2 separate regions of the Homo sapiens genome follow, and region 1 is linked to region 2. Evidence: promoter capture Hi-C in 16 types of primary human blood cells and fetal thymus (Javierre and others, 2016). All regions are on one chromosome and are shown on one strand. The core of a region is centred on a gene start or on the middle of the fragment in contact, and the rest is flanking DNA. Distances in the headings are between cores, read along the strand shown. Region 1 overlaps APP (amyloid beta precursor protein). Region 2 holds the start of LINC00158 (long intergenic non-protein coding RNA 158).

The links. The method cuts DNA at HindIII sites, captures the fragments that hold promoters and counts their contacts. A CHiCAGO score of 5 or more calls a contact.
Region 1: a fragment that was not itself captured here is called in contact with the fragment with the promoter of LINC00158 in region 2 in 1 of 17 cell types (M0 macrophages); the score reaches 5.4 in M0 macrophages.

What each region holds. Positions count from the first base shown.
Region 1 is chr21:26,145,420-26,151,563 of GRCh38, reverse strand. All of the region lies in intron 1 of APP (amyloid beta precursor protein), which reads left to right. It overlaps LOC124900466 (a long non-coding RNA gene), which reads left to right. Exons shown (of 2, transcript XR_007067829.1): 1 at 1-2,427. Among named protein-coding and RNA genes, the nearest start is that of APP, 22 kb to the left of the region's middle. RefSeq lists an enhancer at 2,059-2,628. The HindIII fragment of the contact is 1,522 bases long and covers 1,162-2,683 here.
Region 2 is chr21:25,426,924-25,433,592 of GRCh38, reverse strand. LINC00158 (long intergenic non-protein coding RNA 158) reads left to right here and starts at 1,892. Exons shown (of 5, transcript NR_024027.2): 1 at 1,892-2,415; 2 at 3,584-3,827. The HindIII fragment of the contact is 1,417 bases long and covers 490-1,906 here.

The DNA of each region.
Region 1 (6,144 bases), core at 673-3,172, 720 kb before region 2:
CAGAAAGGCTGGGGACCACTGCTATAAATTGCTGCTGTCAAGTAGTGTTACGCATGGTGGTCTTTAACATAAAAAAAAAAGGTAATGAACGTACACCACACAGATTAGCAAAAATAAGGAAAGGCTGATCTAGTAGTTCAAACAAGCAATCCTCTTATTTAATGGTTCTGTGATTGCTCGTGTAGGCAGAAGCTTAACTGTAAGTTGTTGCATTTGACAGGCAAATGTAGCTGGAGCTGGAATGTAGATATTAGTGAAATTGTGATTTCAGTTTACTGGAGCCATTCAGTGGGAGCATGAAGTGGGTTACATGATTACACGGATATAAATAAAGCGTCCTCCTTGCCACTTCACTGCTGTTAAAGTCTCTCCTGATGTTATGTGGTGAAAAACAAGTCAAAAACATTAATTCTGTCAAGTTTCCAAAGATATAAGAATCTTTGACCAGAAAAGAGACGGTATTTATCTTCAAATTTAACAAATTGTGATGAAATGCTGCTGTTACAGAACCTAGTGTAAGGTCGTGGAGTCCATTCAGCCAGACACATGTAATTTTGATTATTAACTGCCGTTTCTGTGGTCAGTCGGCCAGTTTTATATATTTCACATTATAGGTATTTGGAGCAAAGACAGTGTTGTTTATTGTTTACTTTAAAAAAATACAATACTGTAACTACATAATGAGTAAATGTTGATACTGTTGAAAACTAATAAAAACAAATTCTTACACTATCAACATCACAGAAATTCTAATTGTAAGAAAATATTGATATAATATGGAAATCCGTTCATTTATTTGGTGCATTAATTGAACACCAACACTATGCCAAGCATTGGGATACAACCATGAAAGAGGCCAGCTTCCTGATCTCACAGAGCTTGTACTTTGTTGGGTGGGGCAGAGAGCAAATCAGTCAATCTGTCTGTCTGTCTGTCTATCTATCTGTCTATCTATCTGTCTATCTAGATGTCAATCAGTATACTCTGTGCCACTTGGTGGTCAGTGCTATGAAGAAAAATTAAGCCAGTGAGGAGCTGGATAGAGACACAGTCTGGAAGGGTATGAAGGGGATCAGAATATGCTACCCCCAAATATGCCATTTCAGCAAAGTACTAATTTGAGCTGAAGACAATCGAGAAATAGCAGACCCAGGACAAGCTTTACCCCCTTTTTATAAAAATTTTGCTGTGTGAAGGTATCCTCCTTCCCCTCTCCATCCCTGGAGAGACCACTAGAGGTGGCACCATCGCCTGCAGAAACAAACCTTATTGAAATAACCCTTATCTTCTATTAGTTTCCCCCATATATTTACCTTACCACACTTCCCCTGGAAGCCCTAATCCCCTCTCCTTTGTCTTGTGACTTCTCCACAGTTTATTGCTCTTTGTTAAAATGGTGTGTATGCTCTCAGGCCTAACTGCTTCTTTTGGGTTTTTGCTTTTCTGTGGAGCTCCCTCCTCTCCCCTCCCTCATGTAAAAATAATAACATTAAATAAAATTTGTGTTTTTTCCCCTGCGAATCTGTCTCGTCAGTTTAATTGGCAAGGCCTCATGTGCTGAACCTAACAGGGTAGAGAAAAAAGGTTTTTTTCCCCTTTTCTACAAGTATTAAACCTGGAGAGAACAATACAGTGTAAAGGCTGTGAGGTGGGAGCATGCTGGGGTGTTGGAAGAAGCACATGAGCTTACAAACATTCCATCAATTTGCATTCATTCCAAAAATTGTATGCAATTTTTCAGTGACGATTCCCATTGATCAATCATTTATAAAAACTAATGGTGAGGGTCTTCCATACTCAGTTTACTCCCTTCTTGGAAAAGAATGTACATTTTAATCAAGATGATTTCATGAAAGACATTCTGTACTCCAAACATTTAAAAGAGCGTTTAGAGTATACAGCAATTCATCTTTTCTTCTGTATTTTAAAATTTAAGACAGGGAGAATTATTGTATTATACTTAGTTCAGATTTGGTGGTGGTTTTGTTTTTTGGTTCCAGTGAAAAGAAATTGCATCAGTAACCTGGCGGTCAACCGTGCCATATTGTTTGTGATTTATTAGTCTGGAAAAAATAACTGTATTTCTGGCATATGTAAAAATAGTTTGCTGAGAGGCCTCCTTGGTTGTGGCAATAGTAATACTAATTACCAGGTACTGTATGTAGCTCATTCTATGAACCAGGCCTTGTTGAAAAGTGCTTTCACTTAATTTTTTCTTTTCAGCAGCCTGTGAGGTACCTACTGTTATCCCCAGCTGGGAGGGAGCTGGCCAGTGGACTGGGTTTAAACTATGTTTTCATTGTCTTTACTCTTAACCACTTATCTTCTCTGCCTCCAGCAAAATAAGTCAAAGAGTTCAGCCAGTGTTTCTTCTTGGACTAAGCAGTCAGCCTCCTAAGTAAGCAAGCCTTGGAATGCAATTGATTGGTAAGATACTAAAGTAATCAGTAAGGCCCTCAGTTCCTGGCTGCCAGCTTCTTTCACCCTCTCCTGCAGGAAGTTCTGAATGCTGATATCTCTACTTGGTGTCTTCTCTCCCCCTCCCAATTCCATTATTTCCCTTTTTCTCAATCCCAAGTGAAGGAAGTTCTGAGTGTGGATGTTGGAGTCATTCAGACCTTGGATCTGAGTCACAACTCTTTCAATTTACTAGAAATATGACTGCAAGAAAATGATGTAAGCTTCCCTAAACCAATTTCCACATCTACAAAGTATCTAAATAGATTGCTTAGGAGAAAAATTGAATTAAATTGAATAAAGTGCAAAGCACAGAACATGGCCAGGAGTAGGCCCTGGATGAATGAGGGAAAAATGGTTCTGATTTTTATTTTTGAGCCTCTTTGTAACATTTGTTGGCCCCTTCAGAATAATCCTTAGAGTTCATATCAGCCACCCTTCATCCCTCCTGGGATGGGCCAGGGGAGAGGCCCAGTTGCCTGTGACACTGCTTCGTTTCACATTTCACTGCTTTAGCATCTCAACATTTCATTGATAACATTTTTGATGCCTGAAAACAGAATAACTTATTTGTAATTCTACATACATTTTGTTTGTGATCAAGTTGTTAGAGTTTGAAATGAGCCTCATTTCCTTGGGTTTTGTCCCTCCCCATCTGACCTTCCTCTTCTCAGTGAACCCTGAAGAAAAAACACTAGCAAAGGAATCTCAAGAATGTTGGTTCGGGACACAGCTCTCTCCATCTACTCTCCTGCCCTAGTCCTGCCCCTCCTTGTGTTTTCAGCGGTGACCAGGCACTGGTGACAGCCTTGGCTGCTTGGACCAGCTGGAGGTAGCTGCAAAATGCCTGCCTGCTAGCTTTGAAAAATCTCTGCCAACCTCATTGAAATAATTGTTTACCACATATCAGAGGGGACTGGGAAGTGGGTAATTGAGAGATCTTTTTGAAGGGGTTTGTGGCTTCTCCACTTGCAGAGGCTTCCTGAAATGGTGGGTAATGCTCATGCCTCAGGGAGAATCAATATCCTTCTCCTAAAACCTGCTCACACGTAGCTCTAAGTATTAGACATGCATTTTTGTTAACATTTTATCAGTGCATTTTTCTACCTGTGTCATTTGGACCTTAGATTCGGGAGAAAATCACTGTGTATCTTTGGTGGTTTCAGGTGGCTCTTAAATTTCATTAATTCACAAAATCTGAATTGAATGGAATAGTCTGTTTTGGGAGGTTTTTTTGGGGGGGTTGGGGAGGGATTGGATTTTTCAGTCCTTCCAAGAGACTTCAGGTTTTTTTTTTGATGTTCTGATTAGCCCGGTGTGTGTAAGGCCCTATCAGGTGTTCGCCTGTGTGATCCTATCACACCCACATCCTGTAGCTGCATCCAAGTGCTTTGAGGCCGACTTAATGGGGATTAACTTAACAGTTGCTCTGTGGGAACAGATGCTCTTTGCCGCTTATTTCTAATAAATTGATTGAGCCATTTAAAAGATTTTTTTTTTCTTTTAAGTTACATCTTCTTAAGAAACTGTAGACAATAAAGCAAAACTAAAATACTTGGGTCTAAAATTAGTGTATTATATTTAAAACACTGGGCTTCAGACTGATTATATCATGCTCTTTTACTGACTTTCTAGTCAGATGCTTATTTATAAAAATAAAGCTTATATAAAGGGCAGCATTCAAATGTTACACCAGTCGGTTTTAGCAGTTTGACCTTCCACAGTAGCTAAATATTTTTTACACTGAGAGAAGAATTCTTTAACATTATATGCTATCAGCATGTCAAGTGAATTCTGAGCTTGCATGCAACAGATGAGACCCTAGGTGGAAACATAAAAACATACCAGTGTGAAAGAGAAAAGCAGGCTCTCTGTCTTTGGGAAGGAGTTCTGCAGGGAGGGGTGTTTATAAGTGTAGTAGATACTTAGGAAAATTAATACAATTATTATAAAAGTCATCTGGGAAAAACCATTAGGTAAGAATAGCCAATAAAAAACCAGAAGCAAAATGTAAAGATATAGAAATTAAAACTGCACATCCCATGCATAGATAGGTCAATGGGGCAAACTGGAAGTCTAGAAATAAAGTTGTGCATATATTGGAAATTAGTGCAAGATAAAAGTGTCTTTTTACATCAGAAAGGGGAAAGATGGATTATTTAGTTAATGGTGTTGGGTTATCTGACTGTACATAGAAGGAAGGTGGGTAATTATTTACCCAGTACCAATACTGGATTACCTAGTATTATGTACCCAGTACAGTTTGTCAGCAACAAAAGGCAAACTTTTTTATTCCATGAAGTGTTCTTACAAATCAGTAAGAAATACTAAATATGAACATCTTCAGAGAAAAATGAACATTTTTGAAAACTTATTATGAAAAGAATTAAACATACACAAGAGAGAATAGTGCGCTGAATGCTCAGCAATGATCAGCTCTCACCCAGTCTTGTTTTATCTGTATTCCCCTTTCTCAACCTGCTCAATTCTCTTTTCCCTCACTGGGTTATTTTGAAATAATTTCAATTCTATAATTTTATGTATAAATATTTCAGTGTGGATGTCTAACAGAATCTCTATTAGACGTGGACAAAAAAGGCAAAGAATTTTATAGTACACAGGAAAAAATACACAGCCAATAAACCTATGAAGATATGCTCAATCTCATAGTCGTCAGGGAAATGCAAAGTAAAACAGTGATATAACATTGTTTTTTAAAACCCTGATGGGCAAAGACTAAAAAGGCTTGCCAGATTGGCATTTTCATCTACTGTCAATTGATAACAGATATTTCTTTGCTTGGAGTACAGTGGCACAGTCTGGACTCACTGCAACCTCTGCCTCCCAGGTTCAAGTGATTCTCCTGCCTCAGCCTCCCGAGTACCTGGGATTACAGGTGTGAGCCACCACGCCTGGCTCATTTTTTGTATTTTTAGTAGAAGCAGGGTTTCACCATGTTGGCCAGGCTGGTCTCGAATTCCTGACCTCAAGTGATCTGCCCACTGCAGGCATGAGCCGCTGCATGCAGCTGGTACAGAAATTTTTTAGATCAGTCATTTAGAATTTTATGTACATATCCCTTGATCTAGGAATTCTAGAAACTAATTAGTTCATAGTATATTGTATAAATGCGCACAGATGAGGATATTATGAGAGCATTATTTGTATCAACTAAGCAAGCCTTTAAAAAACTCTTATACAGTAGAATATTATGCTGATACATTAAAAGTGGGCATAACCATACTGATGTATAGAAATATCTAAAATCATACCGATATAAGTGAAAACATTCAGAATGCAGGCATAATCACAGATTAAACAGTAATTTATATAAAAAACAGAAAATTTATATGTGTATTATGTCAGTAGCAGATTCAAGTGAATCTGACAAAATCTGACTCTGGGCAATGAGAACATTGGAATGGAGGAGAAGGTAGTACATATTTACTTTGTATATTATCACCTTTTGTACTATTTGAGTCTTTTTAACTGTACGCAGATACTTTAGAGCAGGGGTCCCCAACACCCAGCCATGGACAGGTACTGGTCCATGGCCTGCTAGGAACCGGGCCACACAGCAGGAGGTGAGTGGCAGGCAGGTGAGCCAGTGAGCATTACTGCCTGAGTGCTGCTTCCTGGCAGTAGATTCTCACAGGAGCACAAAACCTATTGTGAACTAAACATGGG
Region 2 (6,669 bases), core at 643-3,142:
TCTTTTGTGTTCTCCTTGGTCCAATCATATGCTTTCTGGCCATACAATCTGTTCTGTTTACTTGCCCCTCTCCCTCCCACCCCTCATTCTCAGGACACTATTCTCTTTCAGAGAATTTACCATAATTGGGATTTATTCATATAATCCTTTGATTATTGTCTGTGTCCACCTGTCAGATCAGAAATGCCAAGAAGTCTTAAAGGGCTTGTGTTTCTCTTTTCCTTCACTATTGCATCTCTGTTGTAGTAAAGTGCTGGCACATAACAGAAACTCAACAAATGAAGGCATTGTCTCAACCAATGCTCACATCAACCCTACCTCAGAAGTATTTTCATTCCTCAATTTCCATGTGCAGCCAGAGAGGTTGATTTGATTCATCAGCATGCCCAAGACTGCACAATCAGTAGAAGGAAGAACTTGGAACTGAAAGCAGGTCATGCTGTTTTTACTCTTCCACACTACATTTTAGACCTCCCTGTTTCTTAAGCTTGGGGGTGGATAACAGGAACCATGTGACTATCCTACTCCACTCCGTCCTTTTTTGTTATTAAATTGTACTGGAAATTTGGGCTTTCAGTGATTGTATTTTTTTCTGAACATGCATTTTTTTTTTAGAAAAATGAACTGACTAGTTTTTTTTAAATGAAATATGATTAAGAGAAAATAATCTCTGATGGGCCCATAACCAGCAACTTTGGATATTTTTCATTAAGTGGAAGAAAAATATAGACTTTGGCAATTGAGACGATCTTCATTAATAAATAAAAGGATTGTTCCAGATGTGCTATAAAATAAATACATTGAGAAGATGTGAAAAGCAAGAGGGTTTAATACACAGCCAAAATTTTAGTGTCTCTATTGGTAATAATCAGAATAACTTGTTTGATTATACCATTGTGATTTAGTTGGATCACATAATATGTTGGTATTTGGCCATTTGGGGCCATGAAACAACATTTTCTTATGGTTCAATCCCCAATAATGGGAGATTTTTCTCTCCCTCCTCTGTGTCCCAGGAAATGCTTCATTTCCCATGAGCCCATTGAAAAGAGGCTGACTTAGGTTGAATTTGCTGACAAGTGTGTTGGTTCTTCTTTCTTCCCCATTTCTATATGTTTGTCCATCTTCCATGTGGAAGCTGTGGACTAGTTAGAGGTAATCTGCTACTTGATCAAAAAGGATAAAGAAGTTCATGAAACTTCAATGACCTCTGTACTTACAAGTCTCTTTTAGAGAAAATGGCCTGAAGCAGCATCTTCCTGCAACCTTTTATATGACATTTACTCACATTGAGTGAAAAAAATGGGTTCAATGGATTGGACCAGAAATCAGGAGGTAAAGTGTACTAGTGAGAAGGAGATGAGAAATCATGTGAATTAAGAGAGATGATCTCAGTTTCTGATTTTCCAGTTCCCAATATATTTATAAGAGGTCTGGGTGTATTTTATTTTTCACTTTTGAATGTCTATGAAGTTGTCCTTTATAGTCTTCCAGCAAAAATGTTTTTATTTGCCCTCATTTGGGAAAACTTTTTTCATCACTGAATAATCCCTGACCAGCACAAAAATTAAATGGGGGTAATGTCATGTATATAATATAAACTCTTAAAGATAATGAAATACATCTACTTAAAAAGAAAAATGTTCTTTCTCTTGTGGAACTTAGGTTTCAGAATGGAAGTGTATTTTATATTGGCCAATTGGACTGGCTGTGAAAGACCAGTAACCAAGCAAGAGAAGTAGATGTTGCTTTAATGAGGTATAAACTATATCTTGTTAAATAGGTCTTATCTTAGACAAGTAGTATAAATGCACACCCAAACATCATTCATTTGCAATACAGAGGCATTTAGAAGTGATTCACATGGATTTTTTCCTTTTATTTTTGGAAAGGATTAATCTAAGCTTCTGCTGTGTATGGACCTGTGGCTACATTACAAAATTCAGTTGTGAAGCTATAAAATCAATTAGTCTAGACCTCAAATCTTATTTCCTATGAAAAGCCTCAAACTTGTAGCTGTATGAACAAGTGTTTTTGGAATTTTTTTTTTTTTGCTAGAATGGAGAGAACACACTGGAGATCACAAATGCATTTATTCTTTTTCACCAACTGTTTCATTGGCCTTAAAAAATACTAGGCTAAACTTAAGTGGTAAAGATCTGAAATAAAAAGATGCATCTTTATGTCTGAACAGCAATTTTTCATAGGTCTCTAATAACTTGCATTTCCTTATCTATGGATAAGGAGATCTGAAATTGATCTACATTTTCTTTAGTAATGTTTTCTCTGTTTATTGAGAACAGATATCTTCATCTCCTTCATGCATTATCCTTAGTAACAGATGTCAGTAGGATCCAGAGCCATTTTGGAACTTTACCAAGGATTAAGGATGAGCACAGATCACATCAAGAGTCTGTAAGAAGACAGTATTTCTGATTTAGACCCATAAAGACAGTATCTCATAATTGTGAGCAAAGATTGCATGTGAAGGATTATATTTGTTTTTCCTGACAAGATGTTGCATACTATGGAATGTAAATTTTTGTGATGATTGGAGAGGAACTGAGCTCCTTTCTAGCTCAGTTTCTTTCTAGCTCAGTCCCTTTCCAATCACCATAAAATGGAAGCACAAACCTTCAACAAAATATATTCCTTAGCTGAGCTTGAGATTTTGCATAGCCTCTCATTTATTCTTTCTAGAATCAGTAAAGTGCATTAGGATTCAGAAGACTCCACTTGTTCTATTTGCTCTCCATTGCATTATGACTTCATCAGGCACTGCTATCATGGGGCACTGGTAACAAATGTATGTACTTTCTAAATACTTACGATGTAGTAGCTAGGTGGCTACATGTTGGGCAAAATGGGATAAGACAATATCATTTTAACATGCTTCAAGTACTATGTCAAGGTCTTACTATGTACTATTTCATTTTAATCCTAAAAAAAAAAAAACACTCAGAAGAAGGTATGATCGGGTATATTTTATAGATACAGAGGCTAGAGTTCAGAGACATGAACCTACCTGGCCCCCTCTGCACATAAACAATTATTAAGTAAGTGGATGTTTCGGGAGTCAAATCCAAGTTTATTTTGTTCCAAATCTGCTTCTCTTAATTAATATATTCTACTGCTTCCAGATACCATTATTTACCTTTAAGTGACTGAGATTCTAATGATACTGGTAAACCTGTTAGTAATAAACCGAGCAGGTTACAATGAAAGAAAGTATAGACTCTAAGAGGCTATAGAGAAGGCACATAAGCTGGGTTGACAGGATGAGACAAGGCATTCTGGAGAAGGTAATTGTGGTGGGGGAGTAACAGGCAACCCACAGTGATGGAGGGCAGCCATATTTCAGTCATTGGGCAGGGAGTGTGCACATTCTGGAAACAACACATCATTTTTGTAAAGTTGGGACCTAGAGTGAAAATACGGGAGTGATTGAGGATGAGAGTAAAGGGTAGGAGCCTTGTATGGCATCATTTATAGCACCCTTAACAGATTGAATTTTTCTATAAATCAATGGGAAGATGTTGATGATTTTATGAATACGAGTAATATGATTAAATCTGAATTTTAGAAATATCACTTTGGAGGCCATGTGCAGATCAGATTTGGAAGTGACCAAGACTGGAGGCAGGGACACCAGAGTTTTCTGTTAAAAACTGGTCCATGCAAGAAAAGATGACTCCTGAAATAAGACAGTGATCATTAGGATGAAGAGGAAGAGAAGATTTGAGGAATACTTAGAACAGAATTTACTGAATTTACTGGTTGAATTGAATGTGAAGAGGAGATGAATAAAGAAGAAAACACCCTCAAAGGTAATAACTAATTTTCTGTCTCGACTGAGTGTTTGATCAAACGAATGGCTATACAGGAGGAACAGTTTATTGTGAAAATGATGGGGTACCTCTACAGGACACCCAGAGAGGGAGGTTTAGGATAGTACATATGTATCTGGAGCTCTGCAGAGAGGTCCAAGCTAAAGATATGCTTCTGGAACTCATCAGCATAGAGGTGGTAGTTCAAGTCAGTAGAGAGGAAGAGACCTTTTAGGGACAGTGTGAAGAAACAGAAAGGAGAAGATGAGCAAAGAAGCTCCAACATTTAGAGGGTGGGTAGAGGAGAGGAGCCTGTGAAAAGTATGTGAAAAGCATGTAGATTTATTAAATGACTATAGTCAATAAAACAAAGGGAGGTGAGAACGACTAGAAGGGATGAGGAGCAGCTTCATATTCTACAGAGAAGTGAAAAAGTCTGAAAAGAATCTTTTGGATTTAGCACCAGAATGATGATTGAGATAACATTTCTCTTCAGTTTAATAACTTTTGTTTCTCAAAAAGTTATTTAAAAAAGCCCTATCACCTCCTCATGGTGATAGGGCTTAGTGTGGTTAGAGTTGGCTCAGGAGAGAGGCGTAAGTTCAGGGTTTATACACCACTCCAATATTCACAAAAGAGGTGGCATAGTAGAAGAGATTTTTTTTTCTCCTTGAAATAAAATTATAAAAATAAGCCTTATTTAATATCTTTCTCTGTTTGTGTACCCCACCCAAGGAAATCAAGGGATTTCTCCTCATTAGAAGGAATTGCCCTAGGAGTAAGAATTTATCCCTTTCCACTTTCAGAGTCCCCTCTGAGCATACACTATACAGCAAACATTGGATGAAGAATGTGTATTTTCAGTTTCAGAAGCTGTGAGTGTTCAAATTATATGTTAGTATATTAGCTTTAAGAACATAACTTCTACCACTCAAACAAAGTTAGAATTGTGTTCTTACACCTTGTGACACTGAGCAATGAATCAGAAACAGAAATTTTCAGTGCATGAGCTTGAGTCAGATAGGTCTGTGTTTGGACACCACCTCACACTTTCTAGGACATCATGGGGAATTAATTTATTTTGGTTTCACTTTCTTTGTAGGGGAAGTGGGAATGATGATATCTACCTTGTAAGGTTTTCATAAGTAGTTAAGGAGATAATGTACATTCAGCATTTAAACAGTTCTGTGCAAATAATCACTGCTCAATAAATGTTAACCAGTATTACTTTTATTCTAATTTTAAAAGTCAACCTTTCTTCTCTGCTTTGGGACACATCCTTGATTGTGGCTTTTCAGACATTGCTCCCACACCTTGCCACACTCCACTCTTCTTAGGGTCCTCAGTCTTTCCTTTTTAAATTCTTTCTTGTTACCAGTCATGCCCAGGGATCACTTGCCTTAAAGAAATCAACGTTTTTCTTTGGATATTGATACCTATTTAATAAACTTAAAATTTATTTCTTTTCATGATCAACTCTTATAATGAGTAGTCTATGCTTACTCTCATTTTTTTCATTTCATTTTATTTGTAAACTTTGAAATTGAATCTTAGCCTACTGGAACATAGACTCCTGAAATGGCTCATTGGTGACATATTGCTAGTGAAAATAAATGGCCTTTTAAAATCTTCCACCTCTTGGGTCATTCAGCTGCATGTGATTTTCTTGAGAACCTCGTCTTTGAAAAACTTCTTGCTCTTCTATTATGTGTCACCACAACATCTTCAATCTTTTCTTCACGGGTCCCGCTTTTCCCTCCTACATCACAGTCATTGGAGTGTCTCAAGGATTGGTCCTTAGCTTTCTCTTCTCCTTTTTACACCAATCCCTTCACAGAGTTTTATCTACTTAGAGTTTTTACCATGCTTTTGATGATGAAAAGCATCACATCTACATCTGTGTTGTGACCTTTTAACTCGTACCCAACCTCCGTATCTGCAAATATGGGACCCCTAGAATTCCTGTCATTGTCTCATTGTCTTCAGTAGATAAGGTCGACTTTCACCCTTTTTTTGAGCTTAACTATTTTTCAGTCAACAAAGACTTCTACCCTTAAAAAAATTATTTTTTGGCTGTACCATTCAGATTAGAATCTGCCTTAAACTATGTGAAAACCCTATCATCCCTAGCTTCTGTGTGCTTTGAGGTCAGCACCCACATTTATATTTCTTGTGTGACATTCAAATACTTCACAATCAACTACTGTGTCCACTTAAAAAAAAAGTCAGTGTTGTAGATGAAAAACAAAACATAGGTAAACATCAGATTAGAAATACTATTATACCCTAGAGTGGTCTAATACTTACTTGGGAATTTGTATTTATTGTCAGGCTAAAGTTTGTTTAATAATATTAATAGACATAATTAGAAGTGAGATTTAAATGATTAAATATTGAGGGTCATATAAAACAGACATACTAAACAAATTTTTTTTTTTGTTAATTACTTGGCACTTGAACTTAATATAATTTAATGTGTTTCTCCGTAACTCTGGTTAAGAAATGAATAGGAAATTTTCAATGGAAGTATTAAATGGGGTATTTAGCAAACATTTTATGAGCCACAATTTGAAGAATGTTGTTAATTCTTAATATAATTACTTTCATTAAAATCCAGTAAATCTGATTTGTGCAGTTAACTAGAAAAAAAATGCTTGAGTAGTAAATTCTATGTTGAAGAAATATTTTGCTTTGTGTGGTATTGAGCAAAGCTTTCTTAAACTTTCATGTTTTTCATTTGAAAAGATCCAGACTAAATCTCAAACAAATGGTAGATTTGGTAAAGTCAAACAAAACACTTTTTGGAACAGATCCGCCCAAAAAGGAAGCAATTTTTCATAGA